7 separate regions of the Homo sapiens genome follow, and all the other regions are linked to region 1. The links are contacts of gene promoters, found by promoter capture Hi-C in blood cells and fetal thymus (Javierre and others, 2016). All regions are on one chromosome and are shown on one strand. Each heading gives the region's core, a stretch centred on a gene start or on the middle of the fragment in contact. The rest is flanking DNA. Distances are from core to core; before and after follow the strand shown. Region 1 holds the start of DYNC2H1 (dynein cytoplasmic 2 heavy chain 1). Region 2 holds the start of YAP1 (Yes1 associated transcriptional regulator). Region 3 has its middle 57 kb from the start of BIRC3. Region 4 overlaps LOC105369460 (a long non-coding RNA gene). Region 5 has its middle 5.7 kb from the start of BIRC3. Region 6 holds the start of TMEM123 (transmembrane protein 123). Region 7 overlaps LOC105369463 (a long non-coding RNA gene).

Region 1 (2,882 bases), core at 245-2,744:
CGGGAGGCAGAGGTTGCAGTGAGCCAAGATTGTGCCATTGCACTCCAGCCTGGGTAATACGAGCGAAACTGCGAACTGCGTCTAAAAAAAAAAAAAAAGGCACTGAATGTTTTTGCTGAGTGTCAAAAACTCTGCTAGACCTAGGGATAAGGGTGAACACCAAAGGAAGAGGTTTAAAATATGTCTTTGTTTTATTAACTTAAATCTATTTACTGAGTCCCCTTTAATGTGTCAGGCAATTTTCTTCTGTGTTTTTCTTTTAGGCTTATATATATAAGCCCTGATTGCAAATGCAACCCATTTTTTAAGCAATCCTGCCAGTGGAGGGAGCAGTGCAATTAATAAATCAGTATATCACATGATGTACACCAAAAAAGAATTCAAACTTTATTTTGAAATATATCATTTCACAAAAATTTAAATTCCTAACTAATCTTTCCCTTGGGCAATGTTAAAATCAGAGCCTGATCCAAAAAAGATAGACTAGAATTTGCCTTCCCCCCAAAAAAAAAACTCAAAAAGGGGAGAGAAAAAAATAAAAATAACTAAGTAAATGTTTTCTTTTTAGTTATAACGTATCTGCAGTCTTTCTTAAAAAGTAGAATATAGGCCGGGCGCGGTGGCTCATGCTTGCAATCCCAGCACTTTGGGAGGCCGGATCACTTGAGGTCAGGAGATGGAGACCCACATGGCCAACGTGGTGAAACCCCCGTCTCTACTGAAAATACAAAAATTAGCCAGGCGTGGCGGCGCGCGCCTGCTACTCGGGAGGCTGAGGCACGAGAATCGCTTGAACTCAGGAGGTGGAGGACGCAGTGAGCAGAGATCGCGCCACTACACTCCATCCAGCCTAAGCGACAGAACGAAACTCCGTATAAAAATTTAAAATAAAACACAATCTAATTGCTTCTATTCAGATGTATGGAAGGGAAACATGCTTCGGTCAGGTAGGATGCAAAGCTTGGAAACTACCTGCTTAAGCACGAGGCCAACGCATCTAAGCCAATAATGCAGGAGAAGTGGAGACAGCCTTGGGTTCCTGAAAAGGATCTGGTTGGTAAAGCTAAAGAGTGTGACCCGACGTCCCTCTGGCTGGGCCTGGGGACTTGAAGAGTGGTCAGGGGTCAGGCAGGAGTGCAAGGAACCGTACCGTGTTGGAAAAGGAGATTCCTGCGTCGGATCGCTGCACCCTGAGGAGCATCTGGTTGCCGTCATCCAAGAAGTTGTTGATTTCAAGACAGTTGCACAACAGTGGCTGATCCCAGAGTTCAGACATCAACCCGAAGTAATTCTGGGTAGTAGTGAAGATGAAGAGCTTCCGAACGTCCGCAGTCCCGTTCGCCATGATTGGAAGGGGTGGAGGGAAGTTGGGGGAAGGGGGAAGGAAGAAGAAACCAGTCCGGAGGGAAGTGAAGGGAAGAGAGGAGCTTTGCTCAAACCCGTAGCCCGACCGCGGGACCGCAGAGCTTCGCGGTTGCCAGGGGTAGTCGCTATGGCGACGGAGCACTACGGCGGCGTCGCTGGCGGCGCGCGGTGGGCGTTGCCCTCTCGGGGCACGCGCACGCAAAGCTCGCGGAGGCTATCGACCGCCTCGGAGCTCTTCAGCGGCTCCCTGCGGTCATCGATTGTAAGGGGTTCGGACAAGTTTATGTTGGCTCTCAAACATGTCTTTTATTCTTCTTACTGATTTCTTATCACGCATAATCAGAAGAGAGACATCTAGCCTTCAAGTACAGCAGCGTGATCTAGATTTAGGAGAGCTGGGTTCCAGTGCTCGCTCTCCACGTGCACCTGGTAGCAAACCAGTCTGTCAGCGTCAAGGTACACATCTGTTAAGAAGGGGAAATACTATCTCACAACCAGGGGTGTAGTGCGGATTGTAAAAGATTACTATTTAAAAATCGCTTTTTAGAGAAGCTTATAAAGACTAGGAATTCAATACAATGTTAATTTACTTTCTCAGTCGCCCTCTGCTCCTTTCTGTGCTGCTGCATTTCCCAACATCGTTTTTTCTATTATTAATTTTAGAATAATTTAACCAGCAATTTTTTATTGCAATCATTACCCGAGCACAACCATATTTGTAAAATAGCTAAAATGTAAAATGATACTTTTTAGTTTATTTTATAACAACCGCAACCAAATTCTGTGAAAATACAGATATGAAAACGGTCTTTGTCATTTTCTACTTCATGGCATTACTATAAACTACTAAATTGCTGGTCATTCATCCGAACATTCGTCAAACACTTTCTCAATTCAGTAATTCTCTTCTAAAAATATTTACTACATGCTATTAGGTTGGTGCAAACGTAATTGCGGTTTTTTGGCAAGAACTGTAATTACTTTTGCACCAATCTAACACAATTTGCCAAGTACCGAACTAGGCCCTGGGGACACAGTTCCTGCCCTCAGGAAGTTTTTGCTGTAGTCATTCATCACCTCAGCACTGGTTTGACCCAAGATCCTAGGGTACACAAACATATGCAGATTTTTTTTGTTTGCACTTAATAATCATAACCTCCCCTTAAAACTATACTATTTGAGAATTGGAAGGAGAGAGTCCTTTTATTTGCTGAGCAACTTAAGATTTTGGAGTGGGAACTTAAAAAAGCTGAACTGCTCTAAATTATAAAAGGAAATGAATGTAAATTCTCATGAAATATCCAAACAGTGAGAGATGGGAGTCTGGCCACTGGATGGGAAAACATCCAAACAGTGAGGTGGGATGCTGACCACTGGGTGAGGGAAAAAATCCTAACAGGAACCCAAGATGACTGTGTAGCTAATAAAAAGATTTTGAAAGCCAAAGTGACCACTATGGTTACAGAGTTTCCTGCTCTGCAATGAGCATTATCACTCTTACCAAGGTCTTCAGGAAA
Region 2 (2,882 bases), core at 281-2,780, 1.0 Mb after region 1:
CAAGTTCCAACACACAAGGGAAGAGCAGGGGTGAAAGAACTCCATAAACAACTTCCAGGAAAGTCTGGGCAGGGGAAGCCCGAAACCTGTATTCCGAAATCGCCTGAGCCGCGAGGAAAATAAATGCTTACGGGAGGGGGAGGGGAAACGGGAGGGGGGAAGGAAAGAAAGAGCAAAAAACTAAATGGACCGGTTCTACCCCCACCTCTAATCAACACTGGAAAACAAGAGAACAATTATTTGACTCCCCCAGGAGACTGAAGTGGACCGAGAGGCCGCAAAGGAAAGGGGCCCAGGGCTCAACTTCACAAACTCGGCCGCCGCTGGCAACACACCCACACACAAATGCCAGAGGCCCCCCTCCCCCTTTCCCAGCCCGGCCCGGCGGGAGCGAAGGTGCGGAGCGCGCGGAGGCGCGCGCATTGTGCAAGCCCACCGCGGCCCAGGCCCGACTTTTCCCCACCCCCTTCCTTCCTCCCCACCCCTCCTCCACTCCCGCCAACCTCTCGGGAACCCCGGGAAGAAAGAAAGGAAGAAGGAGGGAAAGCACGCCCCCCGGGGCTGCAACCGCAGAGAGAAACTCAGAAGGGAAAAACAAATCTCAGCCCCGGACTCTGGGAGGAGTGGGGAGCTGGTCACCGCGGCGGAGTGGACGACTCCAGTTCCACTTCGCCTCGGGACCCCCACCCCAGCTAGAGTTCCCGCAACCCCCCTCCCCTGACCAGAGCTGGCGGCCGCGGCTCCCGAGCGCCCCCCCGGTCTGAGGCCCGCCCGACGGGGAAACGGGGAGAGGGGCAACGAGGTTACCTGTCGGGAGTGGGATTTGGGCTCCGGCGGCTTGAAGAAGGAGTCGGGCAGCTTCCGGAGCCTCATGGGCACGGTCTGGGGCACGTTGGCCGTCTTGGGGTTCATGACGGCGTTGAAGAGCGCCTCCAGGTCGGTCTCCGAGTCCCCGCGGACGTGCACGATCTGATGCCCGGCGGGGGGTGCCTGCGGCGCCGCCTGGGTCGCCGCGGGTGCCGGTTGCCCGGGTCCGGACGGCGGGCCCTGCCCCTGCGGGGGCTGCGAAGGCGGCTGCCCTTGGCCCTGGGGGGCCGGTTGAGGCGGCGGCTGCTGCCCGGGATCCATGGCTTCTGCCTCCCCCGACGCGCACCCCCTGACCCAGGCGAGCGAGGGCTACGCCCGGACGCCCCGGCTCCACGGGCCGAGGTGGAGAAGCGGCGACGGCTGCGGGCCGGGCGGCGCTGTCCTCGCTCTCAGGGCCGGGGGGCTGCGCCGCGGCCCCGCATCCCCCGCCCCGGCGCCTCCGCCCCCGCCCTGCGCCCCGGCTCCACTGGTCTGGCGGCTGCGCCTCGGGAGGGGCTGCGAGGCACTCGGACCTGCGGCGCCTGAGAACTTTTTCCCTCCAACTCCCTTGACGGAGGCCGGACAGCTCGTTGCCTTTCCCCGCCTCCCCTTTCTCTTTATTTCCTTTTCTTGTTCCTTCCTTCCTCCCTTTCTTTTCCCTGGCGGCGGCTGCGCCCGACTGAGACAGAAACTCGCCTCAAACGCCAAAACTAAAGTTAGGAGAAGCGCCCGCCCGCGCCGCCGCGGCCCCGCCTCCTCTCGGCTCTTCCTTCCTCTGCGCGCCCGCCCGCACCGCGGCCCGGCCGGCAGCGCAGGGAAACTTTTCGCTGCAAGTTGCTACATTCCTGCACACTCCCGGCCCGCGGCGCCTCTCCCGGCCGCACGTGACCCGCTCGCCCTGGCCCGGTCCGCCCTTCGCCCGCGCTCAGCCGGGCAGGGGCCCGAAGCGTGCCCCGTATTCTGCCCCGCGAACCGCAAACGATGGGTCCAATCCGGGTCCGAACTGTGGTGTCTGCGGAGAACGCGGGCGCCCTTGGCTGCAGGAAGTTCTTCCGCTCCGCTCGGCCCCTTTTCCCCGCCCGTGCTCGGGAAAGGCGCTTCCAGTTCGCCTGGACCTGCGAAAGGGCCAAGGCCGAAAGAAGTGGAGAGAGGATGTGCGAACCCACCTCCTCCTCCTCGCGTTACCCCGGCTTGACCGAGCGGAGCGCCTGTGCGAGCTTAAAGCCGCGAGGATAGATTGGAGTTAAAATAGATACCGTGAGCCGGCATTGATGTTAATAAAGATCCATTGTTTTCAGCATTAACTTTATTTTGTAATTGTTTCACTTATCTGTTAGTCTGCAAAAACTCACTTGAGAGGGGTAAACGGTTACTGTAATTGAAGCTTTGAGACCAGGTCTGTAACTCAGTGTAACTTATTAAAAGAAACAAAAACACTACATTTTCCAAATAGTGAAATCACATCAACTTTTTTAGTACTCGAATTTGCAATAGTCACTGGAAGCCGCAACCCAAAAAATTAGTGCGTCTTCAGGTACAAGCATTCATGCCTCTGTACCTGTCTTTCATCCTCAAGGAGCTGGGTCCCTACCCCTGCTATCCCTGTGCCTGGCCCAACGGTGGACTCCGTTAATGTGGACTGAATAAGAAATGAATGGGCAAGGAGGTCATCCCAGGCACCTGATGTACAAGGAGCCCTTCTGGAAGCCACTCAAAAACAATAGAAATGTTTTTTAAGTCATACACTCTGGGTTTTTTTTTTTTAAAGCATCCTTGTTGAGATATAATTTATATACCATACAGTTTTTGCAATAGTTGTACATATTAGTATATTTAAGCAATTCACTGTTTTTTTAAATATATTCATAGGATTGTGCAACATCAGTCTAATTTTAAATGCACAAGCCCATTCTAAGGAAATCTGGCTTTCTTGTTTTAATGATTTTGTCTACAATGCTAGTGAAACAAAGGTATAAGTAGGATTAAGCAAGGAAAAAGTCCGTGAGCAAAAAGGTAATTTCTTCCTTCAGCCAGAA
Region 3 (2,882 bases), core at 225-2,724, 850 kb after region 1:
ATTTAAACACTGCTTTCTGTATTTGGAGAGACCCAAACCTCCACTACAGAAGCTGAAAATGCTGGGTATTTGCTTTCCCAAGCTACTTTGCAATCTAGAATAAAGACATTGACATGAAGTTTCCATTCATCAGATGAACTGGAAGCAAGTGATTCAAAAAAGCAGAAACCATACTGACTCTATTCTGGCACACGCAGCCTCCCTCCTACAGCCACTTCCCAGAGGCAGCAGGAACAGACATTTCGTGTCCTTGTCCAAAACTGATGATGTTAGAGGTGCAAGTGGCTGTGTGTGTCTGCCCAGCAGACTCACTCTGTAGCATGAGTTTGGGCACGTGTGATGGTTAATGTTGGGTGTCAGCTGAACTAGATTGAGGAGTGCCTAGATGGGACTAATGAGGCAATTACAAAGTCAGACTAAGGGGAGAGTTTTTGCTACTTTATATTAGAGGAAAAAAATAGGCTACCTAAGGTTTATTCTGAGGGCGCCAGATTAAGTAGGAAAGATGAAAACTTTAGGCTGAAATCATCAATGTGAATGAAATTATCAGAGATTCTGAAATCGCTAGGCTAGATCAAACAGCTGGGAGCAATTCTCATTGTGTGCTCCATTTCTATTTTAAAAGCTGGCCCATTGGCTGGGCGCGGTGGCTCATCTGCAATCCCAGCACTTTGGGAGGCTGAGGTGGGAGGATCATTTGAGGTCAGGAGTTCGAGACCAACCTGGCCAACATAGTGAAAACCCGTCTCTACTAAAAATACAAAAATTAGCCAGGCATGGTGGTGCAGGCCTGGAATCTCAGCTACTTTGGAGGCTAAGACACGAGAATCATTTGAACCTGGGAGGTGGAGGCTGCAGTGAGCCCAGGTGGCATCACTGCACTCCAGCCTGGGCGACAGAGTGAGACTGTGTCTCAAAACAACAACAACAAAATAGCTGGCCCACTGTGGCAAGCTATTGCCCAGACCTGCAACGACAAAGCCTCAAGCAGGCCTGAGGATGCAGAAAGGCATAAAAACAGCAGGAACCAGATTATGTCCCTGCAGTGAGATGAGAAGTTTTCTTTTTTATTTTCTGGAAATAGGTGGGACCCTTGAAATAATGGACAGCCTAAAGTGGTATCAAAGGCAGTCATGTTTCTCAACTCCATTGACCTGATGAATTCATCACTCTGGGAGGGCTGTTGAGACCACCAAACTGAGGGTACACCTCTGTAATTAACGATGGGGATCCTGGCCAGGCGCGATGGCTCAAGCCTGTAATCCCAGCTACTCCAGAGGCTGAGGCAGGAGTACCGCTTGAACCCAGGAGGCCGAGGTTGCGGTGAGCCGAGATCATGCCACTGCATTCCAGCCTGGGTGACAGAGTGAGACTCTTGTCTCCAAAAAAATAAAGTGGGGGATCCCAGCTGGGCACAGTGGCTCACGCCTATAATCCCAGCACTTTGGGAAGCCAAGGCAGGTGGATCATTTGAGGTCGGGAGTTGGAGACCAGCCTGGCCAACATGGTGAAACCCCATCTCTACTTAAAAAAATATGAAAATTATCCGGGCGTGGTGGCAGGCACCTGTAATCCCCTCTACTGGGGAGGCTGAGGCCAGAGAATCGCTTGAACCCAGGGGGCAGAGGTTGCAGTGAGCCGAGAATGTGCCAGTGTACTCCAGCCTGGGCAACAGAGGGAGACTCTGTCTCAAAAAAAAAAAATAATAATAATAATAATAATAAATACATAAGTAATTTTAAAAAGGAGATCCTGAGGTGCTCGTTTACTCACACCAACATGTATTCTTAATCATGTGTGAAGGTTTTGAAGCAATTGTAAAGTCTAGTGAGAGAAGCCTTAGCTAAGTCTGAGCTGTCATTCTCACCAATGTACAAACCTTGGTCTCCTTTGTGGTCTGCCGTAGCTTACCCATGCTAATTGAAGTTGAGGTGCCAGAAATTCCTTAGTATAATACAAAGGAAGTAATTCAAAGGCTTAGGAAAATAGGAATGCTGGAGTGGTTTTTTAATGGGTGAACTGCTCACTCCTCACCAAAATATGTCCCTTAAAGAGCTAGAAGATAGTGTTCACCAATACTTTTTTTTTTTTTTTAAAGATGGAGTCTTGCTCTTGTCACCCAGGCTGGAGTGCAGTGATGAGATTTTGGCTCACTGCAACTTCCACCTCCCGGGTTCAAACAATTCTCCTGCCTCAGTCTCCAGAGTAGCTGGGATTACAGGTGCCTGCCACCATGCCTGGCTAATTTTTTTTGTATTTTTAATAGAGAAGGGGTTTCACCATGTTGGCCAGGCTGGTCTCGAACGCCTGACCTCAGGTGATCCACCCGCCTCAGCCTCCCAAAGTGCTGGGATTACAGGTGTGAGCCACCGTGCCCGGCCAGTGTGCACCAAGACTTTGAGAAACACTGGAAAGGGAAGCACCAGCATCTTTGAATATTGCTATACTGGCCATCAGAAAAATGTCTAAATTGAAATGAGCTTCCTGATTTCTATGGGGAGAAAAAGCATGATCCAGGATGGCGGAGGTTAGGCAAAGGCATGGTGGATGTTCTTACGAAAATAGGCAGCATGGTCGGGGTAATGTTCGGAATAACAGGATCTCTGTTACCTGGCAGTAGGTGATTGATTATGGGTCCCCTATGACCAAATTACAGGGCAGCTCATGCAGGTTCTGCCTGATCTGTATAGTAATTAAAAAACAAGAACGTCTCTACGATAGGGTGAACAGAGGCCTGACTTGAACCACCCTGATGGTGATTTAAAGATTCACAACTGCAGGATGTAGCAGATGACCAACATGGCTTAGTAAGACACTCACCTACATTCCAGGAGGGAAGATAAATCCCACAAAAACACAAGATCCCAACACCACATCATGTT
Region 4 (2,882 bases), core at 165-2,664, 830 kb after region 1:
ACTTCTTAAAGTTACAGTGCTGGTATCTTGACCCACCAAAAAAAAGTGGTTGCAAATCATAGATCCAAAATGTATTTGAGGCAGAAGATTGTTCAGAACAAAAATCACTGAAAAGATACATTTTTAGACATAGCTCCTTTACAATTACTTCTTGATAGACAATGGAATTTAACTCTGCACTTACATTCTAATTCTACTTTGACAACGGAACCATTGGAAAAATGTTGGCGTATATTTCTCCAGTTTTGGTTTTATATTTTCTTTATAACTTAAAAAATCTAATTATCATTCTTTTTTGAGAAGGCACTCAATAAATGCTTTTTGAATGAATGATCCAGTCTGTTAAAACTGAAACATTTGCATTCACCCTGGCTTAGGCAAAATTGTAATGAAAGTTATCTTGAACATGCACAGTCTGCGTTTTTCTCTCTATACGGTATGTCTTCTATTAATGTTGTTTTTAAACAACCTTTTCCCTTTCCTTCTCTTGCTGAGATCTCAATACCCTTGCGATCCCTTCCACTTTTTATTAAAACCTGTGCTTAGGGTGAATAAGAGCGTTACTCTTAGAATATTGTAAATAACTTCTAGCAGCAAACTGTTTTACTACACTGTTGGGCTCATTTGCATTTTAATAGAATGAATGAAGCTTTGCATCTGGCATGTTAATACTCAGGGAGCCAACAGGTGGGGAAAACATTTCTTCCAGGAACCTCAGGTAAACTTCTGCTTCAGAAATCATGTCCCATAAGAAGTCACCTCCTTCACCTATGAGGAAAGACAACCACGCTGTCACTGGGCGGAATGGTCACAGCTGGCCTGTGGTGGAATCATGCATTGTAACAGGCAAAGGCTCCAATCAAGCCTGTCCTCTACCCTAGATCTGGGGCTGATAGCATTCTGCAAGAACAGCCACAAAATAAGAACAGGAATCATCTGCACTTTGGAAACACCAACACACTGAGACCTGTTTTGGAAAAAAACAGTGTCTGAAATGGAAAGCTTAGGGGAGACACTTCAAACTCAAAGAACTCCCTGCTGAGATTTTAAAGCCCCACCACATAAAGAAAAAACCTTGACGTGTTTGACTAGCAATTGACAATTTATGTAAAATATCAACTTTCATATCACCAATATTTATATCGCCTAACTTTTATAAGGAACATAAAATATACACATGACTATTCGACCTGCCAAGAAATGATAGCTTGGTATACTGTCATTGGCCTTGGATCATCGCTTGAATTGAGCAACATAATTCAGAGCACAGAGTCTCCGACTCACGGGGAATATAAAATTCTTATCCAAGGACAATGTAACCCGCTTGCAAATATAATAGCGCACGTGCAATTCATCGCGTCTCTCTTTCCCCTTTTGTTCATTTGCTCTCCACTAGAGGATGTGATCTCTGAAACTTTGCTCTTTATGCCGATGGTTTGCAGGGGACTGAGTGAGAATGGGAGCTGAAAGAGAAACAAGACCTTCGAGTTCTCACATTACATTATACTTTCCAACCGTTTGAAGTTAGTGTAACCCTTTGCTAAGTACTTGGCAAACTTTAAACTATACATCTGTGAAGCTGGGTTTTTTTTTCCTTCACATTACCTTTCACCTACTTTAAAATAAACCACTCATTGTTCAAGAGGGAAAAATCAAATTTGTTTTTCCAAAGTAATCTATAATGGAGTAAAACATTGTTAGAAGGTTTGCAATTAACTAATTTACTGTGCAATAAATCTCAGAGGGAATGTAAATTAATGAGGAAATCACTTTTTACCTTCAATATTTAGGCTTCTATTTTCTTTATTAACAAAACATAAGCTTTTTTAAATTGGAAAAGTATATGAAGTTGATTTTTAAAATGTTTACACCATGGAGAAACATAAAATTAAAGTGAAAAAGTAATAGCTCATTTTCTTGTATATCTGGGTTTGTTTGGGTATTAAAATAATGAAAGCAAACACATGGAAATAAGAAATTTGTTTGCAAATGTATTAGATTTAACTTTAGTTTTAACTCTATTTCCCCAGATTTTATCACTTAGAGATGACAAAAACTATTTTAAATCAGTTTAGAAAGTGTAAAGAGGAGGCCTACTGTGTTCCAGGCATGATGTTAGGTATCAGAGGTGATATGAAGATGGAATGACCTGGAATCCTTAACTCTGTAATAGACATTTGTATAAAATAAAATGGAAACTTCATACCTTGGCTGGTAAGGGCTTTAATGATCTTCTTTGCCTGGTTCCCACTGCTTTATCATACACACCTTGTCCTACAGCCATACAAAATTATTTTTAATTCTCCAAATATGCCAAACCTTCCCAAGCCTTTATGCCTTTGCAAATACAGTTGTCTCTTGGTATCCATCGGGGTTTCAGGACCCTCTGCAGATACCAAAATCCAAGGATGCTCAAGTCCCTGATATAAAATGGTGTAATATTTGCATATAACCTACATACATCCTCTTGCATACTTTTGTTTGTTTGTTTTTGAGACAGGGTCTCACTCTGTCACGCAGGCTGGAGTGCAGTGGCATGATCTCAGCTCACTGCAACCTCTGCTCCTGGGTTCAAGTGATTCTCGTGCCTCAGCCTCCCAAGTAGCTGTGACTGCAGGTGTGCATCACCACGACTGCTTGCCTCAGCCTCCCAAAGTGCTGAGATTACAGGCGTGAGCCACCATGCCTGGCCTCTCTTGTATACTTTAAACCATTTCTAGATTACTTATAATACATACTACAATTTAAATACTATGTAAATTGCTGCTATACTATTGTTTAAAAAATAATAAAAAGAAAGGCCAGGCGCAGTGGCTCACGCCAGTAAACCCAGCACTTTCGGAGGCCAAGGCAGGTGAATCACTTGAGGTCAGGAGTTCGAG
Region 5 (2,882 bases), core at 254-2,753, 800 kb after region 1:
CCAAAGTGCTGGGATTATAGACATGAGCCACCACACTTGGCCTCTTGGTTTTCCAGTTTTTTTCTACTGTCAGTGTATGAGCAAGGTATGAATGACAGAGTTTTTCATCCCATTCCTGGCTCAGAACTCTGACAATTCCTGAGAGCGGTATGCTCTCAATATCCTATTATCAAATAATCAATTTAAAAGTATTTTTCCCTTGGGGGAATTATTATTAAAAATATTTTTTCTCTGGAGGGAATTTCGCATAATGTTGTAACAACTTTAGTTGTAGCCTAATGCTTTTTCACTGTAAGTTTTTAGATTTTTATGTATAAAGAAACCCAGGAATCTAGAACTGAAAGTGAAAGTGAAATCTTACAGGGAACATACTGTTCTAATTCCAAAGCAAATCTGAGAGTCCTTGTAAATGTTGACAATTTCCTGGTCTGTTGATAACTTTCTAACATCTTGCAAATAAAATACAATTACACCAGCCTTGAATAAGTGCTAACGAAGATCAAATTTACAAAGAAACCTCCTCTAATGTAAAGCTTTAGTCAAGATAATGAAGTTTACCCCTCATAAATGGTGGCTTACTTTATTTTATACTGATAGTACTCTAATAAAATATAATTTATATCATGTAAAGTACACAGATATTAAAAGCGTATAGCTTTATGATTTTGACAAATGAATGTACTCAGTTAACTATCAACCAGATCAAGATCAAGAACACCTTCCATTACCTCAGAAAATTCTTTCATGCTCTTTTGCAGTCAGTACCAAGCTATAATGCCCCCACCACCCCTCCCCCTCCCACAATCACTATTATGATTTATCACCCTAGATCTCATTTGTTTGTCCTTGAACTTCATACAAATGAAATCATATGATGTGTACTCATACTGGCTTCCTTCACTCAACATATTTCTTAGTTTCATCAATATTGTAACATGTATCAGTAATTTGTTCTTTTTATTGCATAGTAGTATTCCACTGTATAAATATACCATAGTTTCTTTTATTTTGAGACTGAGTTTTGCTCTTGTTGGCTAGGCTGAAGTGCAGTGGCGAGATCTCAGCTCACTGCAACTTCCACCTCCCGGGTTCAAGCGATTCTCCTGCCTCAGCCTCTTGAGTTGCTGGGATTACAGGTGTGCACCACCACGCCCAGCTAATTTTTTGTATTTTTAATAGAGATGGGGTTTCATCATGTTGGCCAGGCTAGTCTTGAACTCCTGACCCCAGGTGATCCACCTGCCTTGGCCTCCCAAAGTGCAGGGATTACAGGCATGAGCCACCGCGCCTGGCCTACCATAGTTTCTTTTTCTGTTTTCCTGCTAATGTACATTTGTGTTGTTGCCTGGTTCAATCCCTTGTGAAAAGAACTTATAAACTTTTTTTTTTTGAGACAGAGTCTCACTTTTTTGCCCAAGGTAGAGTGCAGTGGTGCCATCTCAGCTCACTGCAACCTCCACCTCCCAGGTTCAAGTGATTCTCGTGCCTCAGCCTCCTCGGTAGCTGGGACTACAGGCTCGAGTCACCATGCCCAGCTAATTTTTTGTACTTTTAGTAGAGATGGGGTTTCACCATGTTGCCCAGGCTGGTCTTAAAGTCCTGAGCTCAGGTGACCTGCCCGCCTTGGCCTCCAAAAGTGCTAGGATTACAGGCATGAGCTACCATGCCCAGCCCAGAACCTATAAACATTTTAGATTTTTTTTTCTTTAATAATATAGATGAGGTCTCACTATGTTGTCCAGGCTGGTCTCAAACTTCTGAGCTCAAGCTCAAGTGATCCGCCCAACTCAGCCTCCCAAAGTACTAGGATTACAGGTGTGCCCAGCCATTGTGCCCAGCCCATTTTAGTTTTTCTTTTGGTGAACCTATGAATTCTTCCTGTTGGCTAAATACCTGGATACGGAATTGCCATTGGGTAGGTGTATGTTTTATTTTTATTAGAAATTGCCGAAAGTTTTACAAAGTCTTTGCACCATTTTACACTCTCACCAGCAGTGTATAAGAGTTCTAGTTGCTACACATCTTTCCCAAGGCTTAGTATTGTGAGCCTTTTTAAGTTTAGCTCTTCTTTTGGGTATGTGGTGGCATCCCATTATGCTTTTTTCTATCCCTGTTGATTAATGATGTTGACTATATTTCCATATGCTTCTCGACACTTTAGATATCATATTTTGTGAGGTGCCTGTTCAAATCTTCCTCCAATTTTTAAATTGAATTGATTGACTTCAGGGAATTCCTTATATACCCTGGGTTGAGTCCTGTCATTGACATGTGCACTGTGAACAGTTTCTCCCCATTTGTAGCTTGTCTTTACGCTTCATTAATAGTTTCTTTTGATAAGTAGAATATTTTAATTCCATGAAGTCCAACTTATAATATTTTTAAGTTCAGTGTGTTTTATATCATGTTTAAGAACGCTTTGCCTATCCCAAGATTATGAAGATTTTCTTCTATATTTTCTTTTAGAAGCTTTGTGATATTCACTTTTCTATTTAGGACTATTGAAATGTAAAAAGGGCTGGGCGCGGTGGTTCATGCCCGTAATCCCAGCACTTTGGGAGCCCAAGGCAGGTGGATCACGAGGTCAGGAGTTGGAGACCAGCCTGGCCAATATGGTGAAACCCCGTCTCTACTAAAAATACAAAAATTAGCCAGACGTGGTGGCGTGCGCCTGTAGTCCCAGCTACTCGGGAGGCTGAGGCAGAAGAATCGCTTGAACCCGGGAGGTGGAGGTTGCAGTGAGCTGAGATCGCCCCACTACACCCCAGCCTGGGTGACAGAGCGAGATTCCGTCTCAAAAATAAATAAATACATAAATAAAATAAATGGAAAAAGTTCCCTTGTCCCCCTCGCAGGGCTTGCGACAGACGGAATGGCTCACT
Region 6 (2,882 bases), core at 251-2,750, 660 kb after region 1:
CCCAGGCTATAAGTACACTGAGCCTTAAAGGAAGTATTAGCTGTGGGTTGGTGAAGAGAATTCCAGAAGGAAAGAACAACGTATGCAAATGCCAGGAACCAGAAAGCACCCTTCTCCATGGGCAACAGAACCAAGGCTGGAAAGACAGGTTGGGCCTAGATTGGGAAATGCTTGGATAATGGGGTAGTCACCAGAACGGTTTATTCCTAAACCAGATTCCCCAGTTAAATAGAATAACCAAAATCGAAATGTGCAATGCTTGCTTTTTGTCCATGATAAGCTGCAGGGGAAACATTTGCAGGTTGGCTGACTGAATCCACAGATGGAAGTCTCTGTAAATTTAGGACAGATTGTCTCAGTTAATCTCTAGGACCAGTCAGACCTCTGTAATGATGGATTTGCCTGACATGAGAAAGTTCTACCTCTCATAACACAGTTTTCAAAAGTTAACTGCAATGTGGCCTTTATGTGATGAAATCTGGCTCAGGTGCCAAAGATCTGCAACATTAAGACCTTTGCAGGTGGGGATTCACTGTGATTTTAGGTTCCTTGGATCCTTCAGTCTTCTACTTCAGCTGAGGGTTCCCACCCAAGCCAGGACTCAGCCTTTGTTATTCTCATGCATTAGCCACAGGTAGCTATGTCACTTCAGAGTTCTGAGCACGATGAAAATGCAGACTTTACAAGCACTTCAAGTCAAGACAAGTGATTAGCATTGGCTCCAAGGGTTTAAAAGGAACTCAGCCAAAAACTGTTCAAAACTGGCCATTTCATCTGAACTGGGACAGCAGGGCACAAGGAGAGAAAAGGCTGGTTGGATTAATGCAGCCCCCGCTTTCCATGGCTCTACTGTATTTCACTGAGAGTTGCTACCAACTCCTGCGCGCGCCCCCACCCGCCCACTCCACTAATCTCGTGTCTTAATCAGAGATACAGGGAACCCGTGGAGAAGATGAAGTACAACTGGGATAAGAAGATCGTAGGTGTTTTACGTTTGAATTTAAGCAACAAATCTGTCGAGCTGTTTTTCTCCACTTCCCCCTTAGGCTGGGTCACGCGAGGGGAAAGCTCCGACCGCCCAGGACTCCTTAGAGTGAATCCCATCCCCTCAAGTTCCTCTCCAGAATCTCCCCCTCCTCCCGCCTTTGCCCTGCAACTCCTCCCTCTCACTCTGAGTCGCACGCACCCCTGTCCCCTCCCTGCCCGCAAAACTACTCTTCAAAGGCTTCCTTCCGGGCACCGCGAAGCCAGCGTGCTCAGCATTCAGGGAGGCAGCGGCGCTCGCCTTCATCCAGGACAACAAAACTGCCATTTCCGAAGAGAAAGGAAACGGCTCGCGGTTTCTGGGGTTCCCAAGCGCGCGCCTGCGAGGGAGGCCGCGAGCCGAGTCGCCACGCCCAGAACCCCGAGCCCGCCCCCGCGCCACCCAGCCCGGCCCCGCCGCCCCGGCTGCGCACGCGACGCCCCCTCCAGGCCCCGCTCCTGCGCCCTATTTGGTCATTCGGGGGGCAAGCGGCGGGAGGGGAAACGTGCGCGGCCGAAGGGGAAGCGGAGCCGGCGCCGGCTGCGCAGAGGAGCCGCTCTCGCCGCCGCCACCTCGGCTGGGAGCCCACGAGGCTGCCGCATCCTGCCCTCGGAACAATGGGACTCGGCGCGCGAGGTGCTTGGGCCGCGCTGCTCCTGGGGACGCTGCAGGTGCTAGCGCTGCTGGGGGCCGCCCATGAAAGCGCAGCCATGGCGGGTAAGTGGCTGCGGGGGTCGTCAGCCCCGTTCGTGGGAGGCAGCGCGCTGCCGAGGCTTGGGTTCCCAAGTTGGGCTCTGGTACAGAAAGTTCCGCGTGTGTCTGGCCGAACGCTCGGGGCGGACCCAGAGGTGACCGGGCGGGGTGGGGGAAACTGAGGTTTGGACCAGTCACCCGCTGGCCCCGGGGCCGCCTGCTGAGGAAATTGCCTGGTGCTTCCCCTCTCGCTTTTTGGATGCGGCGGTCGCAGGCCGGGACGGGTGCGCATAACCTGTTGAGTTACCGCAAGTTGGTTTTTACAGCCTTTCCCTGAAGTTAATGTTTGCCGAGGTTAGAGTTTCTAAGGCTTCCGTTTGTAAACAAGATTAGCTGAGTTGAAAAATATGTCTACCTAGGCCCGCGGAAACGTCTCCCAGTTAGTCGGGGAGCTTTTCAAGCGTCCCCCAGGCATTTCAGCGTCTAATATTATGCAGTATTATCCAGATGAATTACAATCTTTAGGTCCCCCTGACGCTCGAAGTTAGACTTCGGGGCTCTTGGAGCTAGTTGGGAGCTTTTGGGGAGCGCGCCCCGCCCTCGCGGTAGTTGAGGCGGCCGCCCCCATGGCGGGGCGCTCTCCACCCCTCGTGTGCCATAAACACCCGGCCGAGGCGCGCGGCAGCTGCGCAGCGTTAAGGGCACAGCTGCACGGTCGCCGGTGGCCCTTGTCGTCGCTAGTAAGGTCGTAACAGGATGATGTTGACTTTGCTTTTCTGTGTAGGGCGGAATTTGTTTCGTTTTAGGCCCTTGGCCCTTTGGAGACTTCAAACAGCCCTTTTTGGATGAAACCAGGAAGTTGGGATTTGTTGTGTAAATACTGTTTTCCTTTGTCAACTGTTAGAGAAGTCAGGTCCCTAGGTAATGGTCAGTAAACTAGGATAAGTTAAGTAACCCAAGGTTTTCATGGTTTTAAGTTCTATCCATCCACTGTATATGTTAGCCTTAGGTTCGTTTTATCCAGCAAAAGAAAAAGGCAGTTTGTAAATCTGGAAGGTTCAGGCACAACACTTGCTTTTTCTGGAATAACCTGGGTGAATTAACAATTTTTCTTTGTTTTGCTGAAGTTTTTTTGTTTGCTTAATTGTGCGTGTGACAAACTGGC
Region 7 (2,882 bases), core at 268-2,767, 520 kb before region 1:
AATTTTACCTGGACTGAAGCAATTGTTTCTTAATTTTTACCTTTACCTATTTTAAACTTACATAGGTTTACATTGCTAAGTGTTAGAATTTTTACTTTTTGCTAATGCTTTAAATATATTTTCTTAGTTAAAAAAAAAAATCCGGCGGTAGGAGGGACCCTTCCTATATTAACCTGTATCAACCACACAGCTTAATAGGATTAAGAATTAGAAATGTCTATAGTAACAGCACTTTACTATTTTGGGAAATTCTCACCCAGTGAGGTTAAGTTACAAATAATGTTATTGGTTGACAAAGAAACTTCCTAAAAATACATTTATCTGAACAACAGACTGCACAACCAGCTCCCTCTTCAGACAATAGATTACTCATCAGGATTTATAGCCCTCGTGGTACAATATAAAGTATATTTAGCCTTTGCCCCATGTTGATGAAAAAAGCCAAACTCTGTAAAATATTTGAAAAGGTTTATCCTGAGCCAAATGTAAGGGCCATGACCTGTGACACAGCCTCAGGGGGCCCTGAGAACATGGGCCCAAAGTGTATGTGTTATGGCTTGATTTTATACATTTTAGGCAAACACAAGTTACAGGCAAAGACATACATCAATAAATGTAAGTAATACATTGGTTTGGCCCAGAAAGCTGGAACATCTCAAAGCAGGAGCTTCCAGGTCTTAGGTGGATTTAAAGATTTCCTGATTTGCAATTGCTTGAATGAGTTAAGCTTTGCCTAGAGAGTTAAAATCAGCAAAAAGAAATGCTTAGGGTTAAAATAGAGGGCTTATGGAAGCCAAAGTTCTTGTTATATAGATGAAGTCTCCAGGTAAGCAGGCTTCAGAAAGAGTAGATAGTAAATGTCTTTTTTTTTTTTTTTGAGGCAGCATTAACATTAAAGTAGAGATCCTTAGACTCACAGAATAAACTCTTTGTAGCAATAAGATACCAAGTCCAGCCTAACTCTGGTATAACATCACATGACAGATAACAGGCCCTATCTCTCCTAAAAACCCCATCTCTCCTAAAAATACAAGAAATTAGCCAGGTGTGGTGGCACACACCTGTAATCCTAGCTATTTGGGAGGCTGAGGCATGAGAACTGCTTGAACCCAGGAGGCGGAGGTTGTGGTGAGCTGGGATCATGCCACTGCTCTCCAGCCTGGGCAACAGAGTGAGACTCTGTCTCAAAAATAAATACATAAATAAGTAAAGTATTCAGCATGTCAAAGCACCAAACTTTTGGGGTATTATTTTCTGAGTCCCAACATTAGGAAGACTTGTTTGTTCAGCTTCTCTGTGTCCTTGTGTCTTCAGAGATAAGAATGTTTCTTTATTCTGAGTTTAAGGAGGGCACCTCAATAATGGACTTCTGACCTACTTCAGAAAAGAAGGGTGAGGGTAAAGTGGGGATGACCTTCCTAATTCTGCTGTTTTCTTAAATGCCAATGTGCCATATTTTGGGGTATGTGTCCACTGTCATGTCTCCAATGTCTCCTTCTGTGTAGACATCCAAACAGCCCTCTGGCATTCCTTAAACTGAATCAGGCTCTTCTACCTCCCTGGTCTTTGCACACATTGTTCCTGTAGCCCACAGTGTTTGCACACCCCTTTCCACCTGGAAAATCCATTTATCCTTCAGGATAGGACTGGATGTCCCTGATAGTTGGCCATTCCCTCCTCTCTGCTTTCTGAGCATTTTTCATTAATCCATATTTTTAATACTTACCTATGTTATATCTATTTTTCTGCCTCTCCCTTGAACTGAATAATGAGTCATTCCAGAATAAGGATGAGATGATTTTTGTCCAACTGAGGAGCTAGACAACCTGGATTTCATTTCTCTCTCTTCCACTTTCTGTTTGGCTTTGGTCAAGCTACCTAACTGCTCTTTGACTCAGTTTCCTTATATGTAAAGTCGGGGTAATAATAGTGTCTAATTCATAGGATTATTGAATGGATCAAATGAGCTTCTATGTATCCAACTTTGCTGGCAAACCTCCAAGTTTTTCTGTCTTATTCTTTGAACCAGGGCTTCTTTGAATCTATTTTTTTTTTTTTCTGTTTTGTGGGAGCTGGGAAGGTGGTAGTGACCAACAGCACTCAGGATACCAGTGAGATAGCAGAGAGGGAGAGAGACTTACAGAAAATTTAAGAGTGAAGACTTTGGTATGTAGCCTTGCCATGGATGAATAAATGAATGAAAAAATAAAATTTAAAAATATCTAATAGGTGAATGTATGGAGAAAAGACCAAGATGAAAATGGTATGAATTTTAAAAAGCATGAAGGCATAAATGATTCAAGCTTTAGGATACATAACAAATTAATATACAAACATCACTTAAAAATAATGACACCTTGAGTCTATGGTGGAATTCATTGTTTTACTTTAGAATAATAGAATTAAAAGTTCAGGTTTATTGAGCACTTATTACACATAGCATCATTCCCAATGCTCTATTTTTATTATCTCATTAAATCTTCACAACAGCTCTGTTACAGATGAAGAAACAGCATTAAGAAGTTAAGTAAATTGCTCAAATTCATACAACTGATGAGAGTTAGGGCTGCAGTTTGAACCAAAGCAGATGAGGCTCTTTTATACTATTTACAATTCAGATATATATAAATCATGTATTAATTCAGAAATTTGAAGTGCTTGAGAAAAGGCACAGCTATTAATGATTAGATGCCAGCCCAAAAATATGCATTCTCAGGTTTTCACATTCAATGTGACTCCAAAATGAAGCAACTTATTCCAAAATTCTATGGTCAAATCTCTTGAATATCAGTAGTCAGATGTGCTTAGAATTTTCCGATATACATTGCGTGTAATAGAGGAGGAAGGGGAGGTGGAAGACAAGAGAAAGAGAGGAATGGGAA

Evidence for each region. Contacts are between HindIII fragments. The CHiCAGO score rates a contact against its expected background, and 5 or more counts as called.
Region 2: the fragment with the promoter of YAP1 here is called in contact with the fragment with the promoter of DYNC2H1 in region 1 in 2 of 17 cell types (activated CD4 T cells and M1 macrophages); the score reaches 5.5 in activated CD4 T cells.
Region 3: a contact is called between a fragment that was not itself captured here and the fragment with the promoter of DYNC2H1 in region 1, in 1 of 17 cell types (activated CD4 T cells). The highest score is 5.5, in activated CD4 T cells.
Region 4: a contact is called between a fragment that was not itself captured here and the fragment with the promoter of DYNC2H1 in region 1, in 1 of 17 cell types (total CD4 T cells). The highest score is 5.3, in total CD4 T cells.
Region 5: a contact is called between a fragment that was not itself captured here and the fragment with the promoter of DYNC2H1 in region 1, in 2 of 17 cell types (total CD8 T cells and naive CD4 T cells). The highest score is 5.9, in total CD8 T cells.
Region 6: a contact is called between the fragment with the promoter of TMEM123 here and the fragment with the promoter of DYNC2H1 in region 1, in 1 of 17 cell types (naive CD8 T cells). The highest score is 5.1, in naive CD8 T cells.
Region 7: a fragment that was not itself captured here is called in contact with the fragment with the promoter of DYNC2H1 in region 1 in 1 of 17 cell types (erythroblasts); the score reaches 6.4 in erythroblasts.

What each region holds. Positions count from the first base shown.
Region 1 is chr11:103,108,038-103,110,919 of GRCh38, reverse strand. It overlaps DYNC2H1 (dynein cytoplasmic 2 heavy chain 1), which reads right to left and starts at 1,494. Exons shown (of 89, transcript NM_001377.3): 1 at 1,151-1,494. The coding sequence starts at 1,345. RefSeq lists enhancers at 1,662-1,711, 1,782-1,901. The HindIII fragment of the contact is 957 bases long and covers 963-1,919 here.
Region 2 is chr11:102,109,095-102,111,976 of GRCh38, reverse strand. It overlaps YAP1 (Yes1 associated transcriptional regulator), which reads right to left and starts at 1,530. Exons shown (of 9, transcript NM_001130145.3): 1 at 808-1,530. The coding sequence starts at 1,128. It overlaps YAP1-DT (YAP1 divergent transcript), which reads left to right and starts at 1,520. Exons shown (of 1, transcript NR_198976.1): 1 at 1,520-2,150. RefSeq lists silencers at 1,618-1,747, 1,758-1,807. The HindIII fragment of the contact is 4,853 bases long and covers 1-2,232 here.
Region 3 is chr11:102,259,494-102,262,375 of GRCh38, reverse strand. No RefSeq gene overlaps it. Among named protein-coding and RNA genes, the nearest start is that of BIRC3, 57 kb to the left of the region's middle. RefSeq lists an enhancer at 895-1,399. The HindIII fragment of the contact is 6,538 bases long and covers 1-2,882 here.
Region 4 is chr11:102,278,414-102,281,295 of GRCh38, reverse strand. LOC105369460 (a long non-coding RNA gene) reads right to left here. Exons shown (of 5, transcript XR_007062863.1): 4 at 2,207-2,274; 5 at 57-1,463. Among named protein-coding and RNA genes, the nearest start is that of BIRC3, 38 kb to the left of the region's middle. The HindIII fragment of the contact is 819 bases long and covers 1,005-1,823 here.
Region 5 is chr11:102,310,387-102,313,268 of GRCh38, reverse strand. No RefSeq gene overlaps it. Among named protein-coding and RNA genes, the nearest start is that of BIRC3, 5.7 kb to the left of the region's middle. RefSeq lists an enhancer at 2,757-2,882. The HindIII fragment of the contact is 1,936 bases long and covers 536-2,471 here.
Region 6 is chr11:102,451,383-102,454,264 of GRCh38, reverse strand. It overlaps TMEM123 (transmembrane protein 123), which reads left to right and starts at 1,500. Exons shown (of 5, transcript NM_052932.3): 1 at 1,500-1,741. The coding sequence starts at 1,642. TMEM123-DT (TMEM123 divergent transcript) reads right to left here and starts at 1,346. Exons shown (of 2, transcript NR_135053.1): 1 at 1,216-1,346. RefSeq lists enhancers at 1,137-1,246, 1,977-2,266, 2,447-2,496 and a silencer at 1,367-1,656. The HindIII fragment of the contact is 13,483 bases long and covers 1-2,882 here.
Region 7 is chr11:103,629,571-103,632,452 of GRCh38, reverse strand. The region is part of intron 3 of LOC105369463 (a long non-coding RNA gene); the gene reads left to right. Among named protein-coding and RNA genes, the nearest start is that of MIR4693, 220 kb to the left of the region's middle. The HindIII fragment of the contact is 1,576 bases long and covers 730-2,305 here.